Regions from separate parts of the Homo sapiens genome. Here region 1 is linked to region 2. The links are contacts of gene promoters, found by promoter capture Hi-C in human tissues and cell types (Jung and others, 2019). All regions are on one chromosome and are shown on one strand. The core of a region is centred on a gene start or on the middle of the fragment in contact, and the rest is flanking DNA. Distances in the headings are between cores, read along the strand shown.

What was found. Contacts are between HindIII fragments. The study calls those that stand out against the background at their distance.
Region 1: a contact is called between a fragment that was not itself captured here and the fragment with the promoter of NDN in region 2, in 8 of the 25 tissues and cell types used here (IMR-90 fibroblasts, adrenal gland, dorsolateral prefrontal cortex and 5 more).

What each region holds. Positions count from the first base shown.
Region 1 is chr15:23,889,397-23,892,456 of GRCh38, forward strand. No RefSeq gene overlaps it. Among named protein-coding and RNA genes, the nearest start is that of PWRN4, 84 kb to the right of the region's middle. The HindIII fragment of the contact is 6,351 bases long and covers 1-3,060 here.
Region 2 is chr15:23,685,690-23,689,175 of GRCh38, forward strand. It overlaps NDN (necdin, MAGE family member), which reads right to left and starts at 1,616. Exons shown (of 1, transcript NM_002487.3): 1 at 1-1,616. The coding sequence starts at 1,528. The coding sequence ends at 563. The HindIII fragment of the contact is 8,447 bases long and covers 1-3,486 here.

The sequences.
Region 1 (3,060 bases), core at 175-2,674, 200 kb after region 2:
AGAGCTCTGGGGGGCACACTGTGACTGAGGGGGTCACTGAGGCATAACTGCATAGTAAATGTGGGTTGTGAGGGGTCAGCCAAGTGAGACAAGTGTTATACCTAGCTGTCCCACAGAGGCCATCACCAGGATGTGGTTGTGGAAGGTTGTGGAAGGGGTCTGGATAGACCCCACCAAGGAACAGGGAGAAGGTGAAAAACTAGCAACCTTGCCTTAGGTGATTAAACCCTGCTTTTTGAATAAGTTAAATCTCTATTCAAAATGGATGCCTGAGCAATATAAAGTTATAATAATTTACTATAGTACTTAAGAGTTCCAGTAATCTACTAATAACTCTAAAATCTCTAATCCCTCAGTAGAAGACAAATGGAGTTGGCCAATATATATTAAACTATATTTAAGAATGTTTTCTCGGCTGGGTGCGGTGGCTCATGCCTGTAATCCCAGCACTTTGTGAGTCCCAGGTGGGCGGATCAGGAGGTCAGGAGATGGAGACCATCCTGGCCAACATGGTGAAACCCCGTCTCTACTAAAATACAAAAAATTAGCTGGGTGTGATGGCGGGCACCTGTAGTCACAGCTACTTGGGAGGCTGAGGCAGGGGAATTGATTGAACCCAGGAGGCAGAGGTTGCAGTGAGCTGAGATCATGCCACTGCACTCCAGCCTGGCGACAGAGCAAGACTACATCTCAAAAAAAAAAAAAAGTTTCTCAATAATAGACCAAAATACAGCAGATAAACCCCATGATTTTACAGTGAGGAGGAAGGAGTCACAGAGAAAAAATAGTGTATTTCATTGAAGCCAGATTATACAACTCACATTTCTCAAATAGGGTTGTATCTCAAAAATGATAATGAAAACACCACTGTGAGGAGGCAGTCATGATGTGATTAGCCTCATGTGAACATGCACTTGGTCTAAAAACCTTCCATTGACACATTCCAGTGAGATCATCAACATCAAAAGTTGCAGAGGGGCTGTAAGTATTTTGGAAAGATAATCTCATGGAGACTGTCACGTGACCCTCATAACAAAAGTGGCATCATCACAGCTTCTGATAAGGACAAATGATGTTTGTATGGGACAAATCATGGAGAGGATGAATTAAAAACTATTTCAGAAAACTTTATCTTTTCATGGGAGATATTTCAGAATTCACTTTGTTAATGTATTCTGCTTATAGTTTCCATCTCATGTAATCACACGATTTATATAAGACAAATGTCTACATTTATATAGATTGAAAAGTTTTTTCAACAATTATAAGAAAAAATGTTAAGTGATAAGAATGATCTGTGGCATAATCGGTAAGTAGTTTTATTATTCCAGTGTCATATATAAAGTAATGATACATCATTCAATTGGTGCAAATGATACATATTGCAATTACTTAGAAAAAGCTGTCAGTATTATCAACTACTAATTTAGTAGTTAGTATATACCTTCTATTCATCACAGGCTTTGAGTATTATTAGTAATCCTCACAGCATGCCAAGATATAGGGATTACGATCACACTCATGTTTCAGTTCTGAAGCTGAGCCTAAAGATCCACAAGAAAGGAATGAAAGAAGCTTAGGCTTTATTCTGCCTATCTCTAGAGTCTTTGCTGACATCAACAATAGTAGCATACCTTTTTCCTCACATGAAACATACTTTCAGGTCTTACTTTAAGAAATATTGGCCGGGCATGGTGGCTCACGCCTGTAATCCCAGCACTTGGGGGACCAAGGCGGGCGGATCACTTAGGTCAGGAGTTCAAGACCAGCCTGGCCAACGTGGTGAAACCCCGTCTCTACTAAAAATACCAAAAGTAGCCAGGCATGGTGGTGCATGCCTGTAATCCCAGCTACTCAGGAGGCTGAGACAGGAGAATCACTTGAACATGGGAGGCAGATGTTGCAGCTAGCCGAGATTGTGCCACTGCACTTCAGCGAGACTCCATCTCAAAAAAAAAAAAAAAGAAAGAAAAGAAATATCACGGTAATAAAGTTATTTTCCTAAGTTAGGGTCTAACTACTGGAAATTGTTTTTGTATTTGAAGTTTGTGATCCACCTGGAATTGCTTTTTGTGTGTAACATGAGCTCAAAGGTCAGATTTTATTTCCCCTGTATGGATATTCCATTTCCTGGAACAGTATTGATAACTAGTCTTTTCCCAATTTTCTCCTTTATAAATTGCTTAGATATGCATATGTGTGTGTGTGTGTGTGTGTGTGTGTGTGTGTGTGTTTTAACTCTCTTATTTTTTTCATTGATTTATTTTTCTATCTCTGTGCACATACCACACTGTCTTGTTCTTAAGAAAGTTCATTTAACAGAAGAATTTTTCCCTCAAAGCCCATTTTCTTAAACACTGTGTTATGGTGTCATAAAGAAAAAGAAGAGTAAAACCTCCATGCCCTGTACCTACACTGATATTCCCAGTTGTACCGCAAATAAGGATATTTTAGAATTTTACAACACTACTAACTGTTGCTTATGTCTTTAACACCCTTGTGAATCTTAGGCAGTCCTCCCATGCCACTTCCAACTTTGTTTTTTTTTAGTACATTCTCGCTGAATTTCATTCAATCTCTCGCCTCCTCATTTCCCTTCCCTGCTTTCTGGAGCCTTAGGAACTTTCTACTCTGAGAGCAGCAGCCAGCAGGGAAGGAACATACACAGACACCTCTGCGTGTCTCCCTTGGAAGCACAGATGCTCCGATGGTTGGTCCTGCTCCTTCTCTGGACCACATCTGCCAAGGATGGGGCCACAGCCTGTGCATCTGAGCTCAGAGCCTGTTGTGGGATCTGCAGGAGCAAGACCAGTTGCCCCCTGCCTTCTCTCTGAGGTCGATTGGGCAATTCCATTATTTTGCATAAAGATCAAGTTTGTTCAACAATCATCTTGCTTGCTGACCCCAAACACATGCCCACTCAGGCCTTGCTTTGAAATATATGCTCTCGCTGTTTGTCTTGGCATGCACATATCTTCAACACTTATGTATATTTTAGGGGGGCATATATAAACATTATCTACAACTGAATTTGTATGTTTATATTGTATATTAATACCT
Region 2 (3,486 bases), core at 366-2,865:
CAAGAATCTTTAATGTTTACTTTAAAGTTGACTCACGGTGGGGTTGTATATGTGTTTAGTAAAGTGTGCCAAGTGCTCACACTGAGACCAGTCCAGTTCAAATTAGTGTACTCCACGAGGGTGTTTTCTGTGCCCAGCAAGGTCATGAAGGGCCTTGACTTTTCTTGGTTAGGCCGGCTTTGCTGGTGACTTCTTCCAAACTCTGCAGGAGCAGTCTACCCCAACACACATCATCAGTCCCATATAAAAGAATAAGATGGAAACTTTCTCAATGTATTTCATCAGTTTAGCACATCTCTGGTACAAAAATCCAAGAAAGGTAGCACAAAAGCGAAAGCACCAACCAAGCTTACATATAAACAAACATGCATACATCCTAAATACTACACAATAGTACCCAAATGAATACAACATTGCATTAAAGGTATAAAAGCACTGTACTGAAAACTTAAAAGTTACACGTGAATACTGCACTGTAAATCCTGAATACTATAATGACCCACCCCCACCCTTCCACAGCCCTGGTGAGGGTCAGAAACCATTCATCTGCCTCCAGACTTTGCTAGTCCTCAGAGACACTGCTGCGAGGGTAGTGGGCAGTGGGATTAGCCTCCCGCAGAGCTCTGGCCTCCTCCAGAGCTTCTCTGTATCGGGAGGGCCAGGCCTGGGGGTCTTTCTTAAAGACCCTGGCCAGGAACTCCATGATTTGCATCTTGGTGATTTCGCGGCTGGCCCGGGAGCCCCAAAAGAACTCGTATTCGGGCGGCTCCACGTATGGGACGCGCTGGTACTTCAGGTAATTCATTTGGACGAACTCCTCAGTGATGAGCTTCCGCACGTCCCCGAAGGTGGAGTGCTTCTTCCAGGGCCGCAGCCCCAGGATGCGCAGCACGTTCCAGACGGCGCTCTCTCTGGCGCCGCGGCCCTTCACGTAGATGAGGCTCAGGATCATGAGCAGGAGGCCTGTCATGGGCATGCGGTTGCTCAGCGCCACCCTGTCCAGCTCCTCGGGCTCCAGCGCTTTGACCAGCGCAAACTCCATGGTGTGCAGGCTGGTTAGCCTCAGGTGCAGCCCGAACACCCGGGCGAGGATGAGGCTGGTGCGCCGGAGGATGCTCCTGCACCACTTCTTGTAGCTGCCGATGACATCTTTCACCATGTCTGGAAACCAGATGATCATCTTCTTCTGGTCCTTGACCAGCACGTACCACATGAGCTCGTGCGCCTTCTGCACCAGCTGCGCCGGGGCTGGCGGTGCCGGGCCCGGCTGGGCCGCGCTCGGGGCCTGGTGGGCGCGGCCCTCCTCCGCAGCCTGCTGCAGGGCCTTCGGGTCGCCCTCGTCGTTCGGGGCCTGGGGAGGCGGCGCGGCCTGCGGAGCGGCCGTCGGGCCTAGAGGAGGGCTCTGCGGCTCTGCCAGGGTCGCGGACGGAGGAACCCCCTCCGAAACCCCAGGGCTGCTGTGCACCTCGGAGTTGGGGGCCTCGGCTGCAAAGTTAGGGTCGCTCAGATCCTTACTTTGTTCTGACATGTCTGCGCCGTCTGGCAAGGGCAGGGCCTCTGCGTCCAGGAGCTCTTCGAGCCTGCGCTCCCTCCGCGGATTCCTGGAGAGGAAGTGCGCGTTGCTGCGCGCGGCGCCTTCCGCAGCGACGGGCAGGGCGGGGCGGCGGCGGGACGCGGCACTGCGCCTGCGCGACCGCGGCCTTGGCCAGCGGCTGGGGGCGGGCGGGGCAGCGCGGGGCCCCGACGGGGAGGGTCCATGGCGAGGCTTCACCTGCTGGGAGAGCGATCCCGGGGTTTCCTGTTTGGGCTGAGAAGATCTAGGGCAGGAGAGAAGTGAGATGGATGCGTACTGGAGAAGGGGCCAGTTTAAGGGAAAGATACCTTAAGTTTTTGGGATGTTGGGGTCAAGTTTCTTGGGAAACGCTTACCTGGGTATATCCAGAATTAAGTTAAATATGAGAGTCCCAGAGAAAGGTCTGGGCGGCTTTGTAAACATGAGCTTTATGCGAACCAGTGAGAGGAACAGTCGGGCTTGTCCAAGAAAATGTGTAAACTGTAAAGTGGATGTCTGAGGTTGGAATCCTGAGAAATTCCAATAAAAAATGATCGACTCCCTACCAAATCAGATAGGCTATAAGAAAAGGGGAAATGCAGTGTGTCGTTAACGTAATTTCCTATCAACCCATGTGAACTATGAACTTTTTAAGTAGGCAGTGGACTTAGAGCATCATTAATGCTTTAACGGGCATAAATTTGGGTTTTACACTTCCTTTGGGTAACTTTGATTCCATTTTATTTTTTTCCATACTTAGTCCATAGCAGAAGGATTGCTATATCTTTTAGCACAAACTTGTATGATAATGTCTTTTCCCTCTGCCCAGCACCCTCATTCTTCAATTCACCTTCTCTCAGGACCCTCTCTGAAGCTACTGAGTCCTCCACGTTGGAAGCCACACCCAAGTCTTTCCTGAGATTTAAAAAAAAAATAGGTCCCATGGGTAATATCTGGTAGTGTCTCTGAGATGACCAAAGGGTAGCAGGGGAAACATAGGTAACCCTGTTTTCCAGGTATGGAAAACAGATTCCCAGTGGGCAAAGACAAAACTGTCACTCCTACAGGCTCTCCATGAAAAAAAGGGTCATTGCCTGAGCATCTGAAACCAGGGACCTTAATGCTGCTTCAGCATCCTTGGTCTGGGCTGATGTGGTCCTTCAGCTCTTCCCGGGTTTCTTCTCATCAGCAGCTTCTTAAATATGCTGTCTTGAATCTAGTTATTGCCACTCGAAGCCAAAAGCATATTTAAAAATTGTCTTGACATGTCTAGAGTCCTCACTGTGAGTATGTATCTTTTCCCACTTTATTTTTCCTCAAGCAGGTTGATGTTGAAAGGTTTTCTGTGCTTTCTCTCTTTGGGTTTGCACGCACATAACACTTTTGGCAGAGCCATTACCACACCAGTCCCTCCAACAGGACTCTTAAGCTTCCCACTTCACCAGGGTAATTCCTAGATATCAGTCTTAGTTGGAATTATTTCAACACTTTTCTCCTCCTCCTCACCCTCCTCCACCTCCTCCTTCTCCTCTCCATCTACTTCTCCTTTTTCTCCTTCTTCTATTTATAGATATCTACCATTTTCTTGGGAACATCTTACAGAAATATGCTAATTATATTCATTGTTTTTAAGAATGTCTCTTGAACAGACTTATTACCCCCATGCTTCATAAATATAATCCTCATTTATTGCATTTAAATCTCCATCAATATTATTCTTTATTTTGTTTGGGTATGTATTATTTTCTAACTATTTAAATAAAATATTTAGGCCAGGTGCGGTGGCTCACGCCTGTAATCCCAGCACTTTGGGAAGGTGAGGCGGGCAGATCACCTGAGGTCAGGAGGTCGAGACCAGCCTGGCCAACGTGGCAAAACCCCGTCTCTACTAAAAATACAAAAATTAGCCGGGTGTGGTGGTGGGCACCCTTAAT